3 separate regions of the Homo sapiens genome follow, and all the other regions are linked to region 2. The links are contacts of gene promoters, found by promoter capture Hi-C in human tissues and cell types (Jung and others, 2019). All regions are on one chromosome and are shown on one strand. The core of a region is centred on a gene start or on the middle of the fragment in contact, and the rest is flanking DNA. Distances in the headings are between cores, read along the strand shown.

Evidence for each region. Contacts are between HindIII fragments. The study calls those that stand out against the background at their distance.
Region 1: a contact is called between a fragment that was not itself captured here and the fragment with the promoter of NFU1 in region 2, in 1 of the 25 tissues and cell types used here (hippocampus).
Region 3: a contact is called between a fragment that was not itself captured here and the fragment with the promoter of NFU1 in region 2, in 1 of the 25 tissues and cell types used here (aorta).

The regions. Positions count from the first base shown.
Region 1 is chr2:70,142,614-70,146,209 of GRCh38, reverse strand. No RefSeq gene overlaps it. Among named protein-coding and RNA genes, the nearest start is that of LINC01816, 19 kb to the right of the region's middle. RefSeq lists silencers at 2,582-2,631, 3,562-3,596 and enhancers at 2,962-3,101, 3,112-3,471. The HindIII fragment of the contact is 5,722 bases long and covers 1-3,596 here.
Region 2 is chr2:69,436,173-69,439,465 of GRCh38, reverse strand. NFU1 (NFU1 iron-sulfur cluster scaffold) reads left to right here and starts at 2,031. Exons shown (of 8, transcript NM_001002755.4): 1 at 2,031-2,105. The coding sequence starts at 2,044. RefSeq lists an enhancer at 2,026-2,175. The HindIII fragment of the contact is 8,312 bases long and covers 1-3,293 here.
Region 3 is chr2:70,122,319-70,125,544 of GRCh38, reverse strand. LINC01816 (long intergenic non-protein coding RNA 1816) reads left to right here and starts at 229. Exons shown (of 2, transcript NR_024444.1): 1 at 229-499; 2 at 1,120-1,509. RefSeq lists a silencer at 314-608 and enhancers at 935-1,740, 1,741-2,546. The HindIII fragment of the contact is 6,404 bases long and covers 1-3,226 here.

The DNA of each region.
Region 1 (3,596 bases), core at 947-3,446, 710 kb before region 2:
TCAAACCCCGCATCCACCTACCTCCCCACCCATACACATTCCCACGTGTACTGTCCATTGCACCCCTCCTCCATCAGTCAATGGGATCTCTAAGGACTGCCCAGGTGCTGCCTCTCCAAGCTAAGCCACCATTTGTATTCTGGAGAGAACAGCTTAAAACCCTCCATACCCACACGGCCTCCTGTCTACCGCACAGACTGATCATTCTCAGACTAAGTGTATCAATAGGTCTGAGAGGGATGCCTTCTTAACTCTTCCTCCTCCAGGCAACATGGCTGGGGCCCCTGACATCCTCATGAGAACAACAACTTGCTACTCCTCCACTCAGAACACTCTGGTTCTAATCTACTATGGCCCTGCCTCTACCAGTACTACTGTTGTCTCAACAGATTGCTTATATATATATATAAAACAGATTGCATATATATATACAAATTTTTTTCTTTTTTGAGATGGAGTCCCGCTCTGTCACCTAGGCTGGAGTGCAGTGGCGCAATCTCGGCTCACTACAACCTCCGCCTCCCGGATTCAAGCAATTCTTCTGCCCCAGCCTCCCGAGTAGTTGGGATTACAGGCATGCGCCACCACACCCAGCTAATTTTTGTATTTTTAGTAGAGATGGGGTTTCACCGTGTTGGCCAGGCTGGTCTTGAACTCCTGACCTCAGGTGATCCACCTGCCTCGACCTCCCAAAGTGTGCTGGGATTACAGGCGTGAGTCACGGCGCCCAGCCAGATTGCTAATATTTAGAAGCTACTTGGGGACCTCCAAACTCTAACTCCAAGAACTATCCACCCAAGAGATCTGTAGGCCTGCCACCTGACTTTCAAGGTACCAGATGTCATCAGCCCTGTGGCTTTGTGGGCCCACTAATTCCCAATCACCTAAATTCACCCCATCTTTCAGTGACTGCTGTCCTGGGTTGGTGCCAATGCCCTGCCCTTCCCTCCAGCCCACATGTGCATACACAAGCGCACACCATACATACTCCAGCCCTCATCCAACAGACACTGTTCTGTCAGAACCTCAGCCAGCTCCTCCTATCCCTGGTTCTCCCCTGTCCAAAAACGCCCAGAATATGCCCTCAGCTAGAAGAACCCAGAGAAATCTCACTATACCCTGCTGGAGGGGATGGGCAGGGGCTGCTCTCCCTAAGCTCTGTGAATTATAATAACTAGACCCTGTAAGTCACAGACAACACAAAAAAATCACCCACAGGGGGGCAGCCCTTTGTCTATTAGTGAATTTTCTCAAGAGATCTGCTTACCTGCTTCACCTATTTCTTCTTCCTTTAGCTCCCAGATTCTGATTTCCTGGTTTTCCTTTGTGGCAGATCATATTTTCTGACACTCGTAGGAATTTTTTTTTTTTTTTGAGACGCAGTTTCGCTCTTGTTGCCCAGACTGGAGTGCAATGGCATGATCTCGGCTCACCATAACCTCCACCTGCCGGGTTCAAGCAGTTCTCCTGCCTCGGCCTCACCAGTAGCTGGGATTACAGGCATGCGCCACCCATGCCCGGCTAATTGTGTATTTTTAGTAGAGACGGGGTTTCTCCCTGTTGGTCAGCCTGGTCTCGAAGTCCCGACCTCAGGTGATCCGCCTGCTTTGGCCTCCCAAAGCGCAGCGATTGCAGGCGTAAGCCACCGCGCCCAGCCTTGATTTTTTTTTAATCCTCCTTACCGACCTTGCTCCCTGCCTGCCTGTCTTCCCATCATCCAGTTCTGCAAGCGCCCTTCGCATCTACCATCCCACCTGCTGTACCAAGCGAGCAGGACGACTTACTTTATTTACAACAGCACTTCTCAAACTTCAATGTGCACAGGAATCACCCAGGGACCTAGTTAAAATGCGTATTTTGATGTAGAAGCTTTATTTTTTAAATTTTTTGAGACAGAGTTTCAAAAACGTGGGGGGAAAAGGGAAAAGATAGGTAGAAAATGATTCTTAGCACCCCCAAGCATCTTTAACCTTTCATTATGTTTACTTCCAGCCTTTTTCATGAAACAAAATTGTGGTCTGACTGTATACAGTGGTATTAACTACAAAGGTTCCTAAGAAGGGACATCTTGGTTGCCCAGGCTGGAGTGCAACGGAACAGTTTTGGCTCAATGCAACCTCTGCCTCCCGGGTTCAAGCGATCCTCCTGTCTCAGCCTCCCAAGTAGCTGGGATTACAGGCGCCCGCCACCATGCCCGGCTAATTTTTGTACTTTTAGTAGAGATGGGGTTTAGTAGAGACGGGGCCAACATGTTGGCCAGGGTGGTCTCAAAACTCCTGACCTCAGGTGATCCACCCACCTTGGCCTCCCAAAGTGCTGGGATTACAAGCATGAGGCATCGCATGCCGCCCGATTCAGAAGCTTTAAAGTGTGGTCCAAGATTCTGCATTTCCATCAAGCTTCCAAGTGATGCGGAAAGTGCTGGACAGCAGGGAGGCTGCTGGCCTGCAGACTGCACCAGACTGCACTTGGAGTAGCAGGTCTAATGCCTGATACAGTCCTGTAACGTCCCTCCCACCTTTCACTGTCACTCATGGGGAGGGCAGTGCTGGAGATGGGTGGAACTTAACAACTAGTGGCCAGGGCCATGTACCAGTGTCAGCTTTGTGCCACTCTCTCACCAAACTGCTCCAACTGCTGGGGCACTAACCTTGTTCCTTAGAACTAGTTCCCCACTCAGCAGTTCCAGAAGTACAAAGTGGGTTCTGTAGTTCTGTGAATTCCCTGCACAACTTTTCACTGTCTTCCCCACTCCCACCATCTTGCAGGTTCACAGTTTAGAGCCTGGGTTTGAAACCCCAGTCTGCCACTCTTTTATGCGCGGCCTTGGGCATGACTCTGAGCCCGTTTCCTCCGGATGATGTGAACAGTGATTAGATACCGTGGACGAATCACTCATTTTGTCCATTGTTTGAACTTTTCCTCTTCTACCTGTTCCTCTAAATTAGCCTTGAAGCTAAAAGGTGCTTTTTGTCCCTTCTTAGGAATCTTTGTAGTTAATACCACTGTATACAGTCAGACCACAATTTTGTTTCATGAAAAAGGCTGGAAGTAAACATAATGAAAGGTTAAAGATGCTTGGGGATGCTAAGAATCATTTTCTACCTATCTTTTCCCTTTTCCCCCCACGTTTTCTATAATTAACAATATTAACTTGATAGGTTTGAAAACAGTCAAAGTAAAATAAACGGCATGAAATCAAGCTTCCACCCGCTCCGCTGAGAGTAGGAGAAGAGAAAGAGAAACGCGCCGACCGCGCCTGGCTGGGGCTGGTCACGCGGCAGCCGCCCCCACGCCTCCGCCAGATGACGTAAGTCACGTTCTCCACTCGCCCGCGCCGCCGCTTCCGGGGGGCTCGGCTGCTTTGCTTCCACCAGGCGGCGCCGCAGGACGCTCAGTTGCCAATGCCTCCTGCGCAGCCGCCCTGGCGCACGGGACACGTCACCACCTTCGCGTCTTTTCTGGAGAGCGCGGGAATGAGAGCGCCGGAGGGTGGTGACGTCACCGGGGTTCCCTGCGTGGCTCGCAGGGGCGGGGCCAGGTACGTGGCGCGCTGCGGCCCGCCCGGGGATCGGGAGGGGAAGGAGAACAGAGAG
Region 2 (3,293 bases), core at 782-3,281:
TGAACTGTAACACCCATCGCAAAGGTCTGCAGCTTCACTCCTGAAGTCAGTGAGACCACGAACCCACCAGAAGAAACAAACTCCGGACACATCTGACCATCTGAAGGAACAGACTCTGGACACACCATCTTTAAGAACTGTAACACTCACCACAAGGGTCCATGGCTTCATTCTTGAAGTTAGCGAGACCAAGAACCCACCAATTCCGGACACAGTAGCACAGAGGCTGTGGGTGGTTTGACTAGAGCAGGCCCTAAGAATGGTGGGACATAGAAGCCTCGTTTCAGGGGTTTGAGGAGTGGGAAGTGAAAAACTAGAGACTAAGAGTGCAGACCATTTTTTTAAGCCACTTGGTTCTGAAGGGAAGAAAAGAGTGTGGAAGAGGATTTGGGGCAAGGCAGGATTTTTCTTATGATAAGGAATCCATCAGAGAGGGAAAAATTGAAGTCTGAGAAGAACGATTGTTCCAAGGTGGAAGAGCCACATTTTATTTTTGATTGAGGGTCAAAAACAGAGCCTTGGACTGCCTTGCGGTCTAGAATGGGTGTGTGTGGGGGGGTGGGTGGGGGGTTGGATGGGGGAAGATCACTGGGTGGGGGGTTGGATGGGGGAAGATCACTAGTAGTTAAAAGCAAGTACGCAGCATTGGGAATGAACCAAACTCGTAGGAGGCACAGCCCACTCAGTGTGCGGGCCCGGGCGAGCTGCAGGCCTGAAACCCACCCACCCTCTTAGATGTGTCTGTGGGCCATAGAAATTACTAGGGTTGTCTTGGGTGTGGCCTCAACCTGTTCAACAACAGGTGTGCTGTTTCCATTCTGGAAACCAGTCCTCTGTCTTCCAGAACAGTGATTCTCAAATTTTAGCTGGCATCAGAATCCTGGGAAGGGTTTGTTAAAACACTACTAGGCAGGGTGAGGTAACCTAAGAGCTTTTGGAGGCCCAGGTGAGAGGGATCACTTGAGGCCAGCAGAGTTCAAGAGCAGCCCAGGCAACACAGGGAGACCTCTTCTCTACAAAAATACTACTACTACTACTGCTAATAAAAGCCAGGCACCGTGGCTCACACCTGTAATCCCAGTGCTTTGGGAGGCTGAGGCTGGAGGATGAATCACTTGAGCCCAGGAGTTGGTTTTGGTGAGCTATGATCGCACTCCTGCTCTCCAGCCTGGGCAACAGAGATAGACCCTGTCTCTGGAAAAAGAAAAAAAAAAAAAGCAAGTAACAAAGATTTCTAGTCCCCACCTACAGAGATTGTGCCTCAGTAAGTATAAAGTGGGGCCCAGGATTTCTAACATGTTCTAACGTGCATTTCTAACGTGTTCTCCTGCTTTTTTTTGGCCCCTAGTCCGCACTTTGAGAACCGTTGTCCTAGAGAAAACGGAATACTCCAGGAAGGTTCTGGAAGAATAGGTAATGGGCTTTGGCACTCTGCCCTGGAAACTAGTCAAGTCTCATGTTAATCGGAGAAGGGCAGCACTGTACCAGATACATCCTCTGTGCGGGTTGGTCCAAGATGACCAAGTGGCAGCTGACAAGCACAGCTATGAGGAAGGGTTAGACACAGTTCCACATCAGACCCATGGGAAAAGGGCAGGAGAAATGCGAGAACCTTTTAGAAGGAATGCTCCAGGGAGTCTTTGGGGGCAGTCACTGAGCTGGGCCTGGAGGCTGAGTAGGGTCCTAGAGGAGGGAATGGGTCAGGTTTAGGGGCTGGAAACAGCATTCGCAAGGCAGCACCAGCACCAGCTAAAAACCTAGCCAACAGGGAAAACAAAGTACGGAAACACGCATGCGTTCACAGTGCTGCGTGAATTAACCAAGCGTTGGCGCAAACGGGAAAGGTTCCCCGGCCTCTCTTGGTCAGGGTGACGCAGTAGCCTGCAAACCTCGGCGCGTAGGCCACCGCACTTATCCGCAGCAGGACCGCCCGCAGCCGGTAGGGTGGGCTCTTCCCAGTGCCCGCCCAGCTACCGGCCAGCCTGCGGCTGCGCAGATCTTTCGTGGTTCTGTCAGGGAGACCCTTAGGCACTCCGGACTAAGATGGCGGCGACGGCCAGGCGGGGCTGGGGAGCTGCGGCTGTTGCCGCCGGGCTGCGCAGGCGGTAGGTGACGAGCCTGGAGCTCCGAATAGGTGTGCCGCTGGGCTTAGCCAGCGGAGCGGTCGCCGCCTTGCAGACCCTCTCTCGAGGCGGGTGGGTAGTGCATCTGATGGAGCCGGCGGGTCCGCCCTGTCGCCGTAGTTGGGGGTGAGCCCTGAGGCTGTCTGTGCGGGAGCTCGGCGCTTCTGTGGCCTAATCCGGGCGGACTCTCTGGAGCTTCCTCTCAGGCTCAGAGACCCAGTTCTTGAGTCTCTGCGGTACGGAAGCTTGTAGAGACTGGCTGTAGAGCCAGAACGGAGGAGCTGTTTTAAAATCGTGTGCCTCTCCCGCCCCCAGGCCCTCTACCGGGTGCATTCCCTCCTCTTCTAAACGCAGAATCAGAATGTCACACAGAAGGGAAGAAAATACCTTGTCTCGTTTCCTCATTTTCCCAGTAAGGCCCTGAAAGAGGAGGTGACATGTCCAAGGTTACACAGTTTCTAAGTGATGGAATTCCGACGAGAACCAGGACCCCTAGATTCCCTGCACCCACCACCATTAAGCCCACTCTGTTCCCTTGTTTTTTCCGCCTCCCTGAGCCCTACCTTTGAGTTTCACCTTTCAAAGACTTCTGTGAACATTGCTAAGAGGACATTTATGTAGGTGTACCTTAATTTTACGTCTGGAGAAAATGGCCTACGGAGAGTTTGCCCTCTAGAGTATTAGACATTGTAGTGTTAATGGTGCTCTTGAAGTTTAAATGTATATCCTAAAAAGATTTAAGTTGGTAGAATTTTTTGTTAGTTACCTCCTGTGTTTGAGTAGATGTCTTCCTTGAATAATGTAATCCACTCTTACTTTAAAAAAACAAGACTTTAAACCTGTATGTTGGAATGTGCTTCCTCTTTATTCATTCTGCTGCCTTTTCCCTGGGCTGAAGGGACGAGAATATTATTCTTCTAGTGCATTTCCAAATTCCAGAGTATTCACAGATTTAGATACTGAGCTATAGAAAAAGGCATTTTTACCCCAAACCTTGAACTGCACTCAATTAGTAATTATTGGGCACCAATTAAATAATGGTAGCAGCTGCCATTTATTGAGCACTTACTGCATGGCCTGGCACTGGTTTAAGCACTTTACATGGATTCTCTGGATTATTTATGAGGTAGCTGTGAAACTAATCTCATTGTAGAGATGAAGAACTGAGGC
Region 3 (3,226 bases), core at 175-2,674, 690 kb before region 2:
AAATACCTAGAATAGGTAAATTCATTAGACAATTAGCCAAAGTGTATCAGAGGAGGTTGGGGGGATGCTGAGGGGAGGGGAAAAGAAAAAAGAAAATCAAGGGGTGGGAAGCAAATGGCTGCGGGGTAGAAGGGGAGTGGGCTGCCGCTTGGGTGTGTGGGCGTCAGGGGGAGACGGGACAGGCGATTTAGGCCCTGCGCGCAGGCGCCCCTGCGCTCCCGCCGTACGCAGCTGTCTTTGTCTGGGGCGGCGGCAGCGTGGCAGGAGCGAGGGGCGCCCCGACCCGTCCCCTCTGCCCTCCACTACCCCTGCCGGCTCCAGCCCGTCCGTGTCTCACCGTCTTTATTTAACAAAGAACGGAGAGACTATAAATGACCCTGAGCAGAGTGGCTGCGAGCAGGGCCCCTGGGGCGTCCCACGGGCGTCATCCTAGCCGCGTGAGCGCCGAGCTTGGGCACCGGGGGGGTTGGCGTGCTTGTACACTTGCTCCGTTTTCTCTGTAAGTACTAAGGATTCCCCTGCCGCCCTCTTCCTCATTTTCCACCATCCCAATTTACACAAGCATTAGTATTTTTTTTTTTTTTTTTGAGACGGCGTCTCGCTCTGTCACCCAGGCTGGAGTGCAGTGGCGCGATCTCGGCTCACTGCAAGCTCCGCCTCCCGGGTTCACGCCATTCTCCTGCCTTAGCCTCCCGTGTAGCTGGGACTACAGGCGCCCGTCACTACGCCCGGCTAACTTTTTGTATTTTTAGTAGAGACGGGGTTTCACCGTGGTCTCGATCTCCTGACCTCGTGATCCGTCCGCCTCGGCCTCCCAAAGTGCTGGGATTACAGGCGTCAGCCACGCGCCCGGCCACAAGCATTAGTATTTACTTCCGTAATTTCCCCATGCCCATGTAACATCACACACACACACACACACACACACACACACGTTTGCTTTTGTTTTCCAAGATGGCATCTAGTAGGCGCTTCTCTTTGTTTTGCTTTTCTAGTACACCGTGGAACCCCAAATCCCAGCTGGGATTCACTCTTTTCTAATGGCTGAACATTCATCCGGGGCATGAAGGCAGCTCAGTTCATTTCATCATTCCTTTGTTTCCTCTGTTTTGCCACCAGAAACTGCCGCGATGAATGTCAGTCCCCAGAGCCGGAACCGTTCCCGGTTTTCTCTACTTGGATCTGAGAACTCTGTCCCTCCAGCCCTGCGAGCGCTTTGCCAGGGTGACGGGCGGAAATGTCCCCGCATCCGTGCCTGCTTTCCCAGATGGGACCCTCCAGCAGTCCCCTCCACTGCCCGTGCTTCCTCCTAACCACTTCCCCCCAGCGACCGCGGAAGGCGCTTCCTCCCCCGCAGCGCGAGCCCCAAGCTCCTCCAGAGCCCCAGCTCTCCCCGCCCCCTTCCCGACCTTGTTTCATATGACCCCTCCCCCGCACATACTCAATTTCGTCTTCCCAAGGCGCCCACTCTCCACATCCTGATGAAAAAAAGAGCCGGCTGCTGTCCTATGTTATTGTCATACTTCTTTCCTCCCGTGCACTACACAACTTGAACAACTTTTTTTTTTCTTTTTTTGAGAAAAGGTCTCGAACTGTCGCCCAGGCTGGAGTACAGTGGCACGATGATGGCTCACTGCAGCCTCGCCCTCTCTGGGCACAGGTGATCCTCCTGCCTCAGCTTCCCAAGAAGCTGGTACTACAGGCGCGTGCCACCACTATTGGCTAATTTTAATTTTTTTTTAACCACAGGGTCTCGCTATGTTGCCCAGGCTGGTCTCGAACCCCTAGGCTCAAGGGATCCTCTCACCTCAGCCTCCCAAAGCGTGAGATTACAGGCGTGAGCCACCGCGCCCCGCGGTAAATACTATTCCAAGGAAATGGCACCTGAGTTTGAGGAGATTAATCGGGTTTACTGCAGGGAAGGAGCATTGGCCCTGGTGGCCAGAGGCAAGGGTACGAACCTGACCCTGCCCTTTCCCTGCCTGGTTCTGCCTTCAGCAAATTGTTCCACACATCTCTGGTTTCCTCCCCACATGATCCCAAGGCCCTGCTGGCTCTAGCCTTTGTGAGGCTAGAATTACAATTCCATTCCTCCCCAGCCACGCCCCATCTCTTGCTCCCTGTGCTAGCGCTTTCCCCAATCAGCCACACTTTCCTTTCCCATTCACTGAGCCTGTGGAAAGCCCTCTTATTCTGAATATCTAGATCCTATTCACCTTTGAAGACCCGACTTGGCCACGTTTCTTCCCAAAGCCTACTGCATGCCCTTTGTGGGAGGAACTGCTCTGTCCTTGCAACGCCACTGTGTGTAGTACTTTCTCTGTATCTTACCAGTGGCATCGCCCACTCTGCCTGGGGTGCTGTTCCATACTTGCCCTTCTTCCAGTGCCATCTATGTGTGTGGTAAGACCTCAGCATAGCACTTTGCCCACGGTAAAGGATATGGTTTCGGGAGTCCCAAGACCCGGGTCCACGTCCCAGCTCTGACACTAAATGTGTTATCTTGAACATGTCACATGGCCTTTCTGAGCTTAATTTCCCCAAATGTAAAATGGAAATAGTAACTTATTTCATAGTGTTGCTGTGTTGATTAGATGAGACATTATATAAGAAAATGCTTTGTGAACTGTAAAGCTATTTACACACATAAATAATAGTAAAGATAGATATTATTCAGATGCTGGCAAGAGGGATATTCTTTGCAAAACAGAATTAAAAAAAAAAAAGAAAAGAAGGCATGGTGGCTCATCTCTATAAACCCAACACTTAGCACTTAGGGAGGTCGAGGCGAGAGGATCACTTGAGCCCAGGAGTTCAAAACCAGCCTGGGCAACATAGCAAGACTCCCGTCTCTACAAAAATAAAATTAGCCTGGCATGGTGGCATGCGCCATTAATCCTAGCTATTTGGGAGCCTGAGCCCAGGAATTTGAGGTTACAGTGAATTATGATCATCCCACTGCACTGCAGCCTGAGTTGCAGAGCATCTCTTGAAAAAAAAAACAAAAATGTGGGAAAACTGTGGAAAATGAAAAAGACTTCTTGGTTGCCATCTCCAAATTTGGGGACTGATTCCTAATTATTCCTTTTAGATCAATTACCAGGTGATGTTAAATATACTGTAATAGTAAAAGCTAGAAATAATCTAACTTTTGAACAGTTGGAGGATGATGAAGTTATGGGTAATGGGAATAATATGTTATCATCAAAGTTAAATTTCTGAAGAA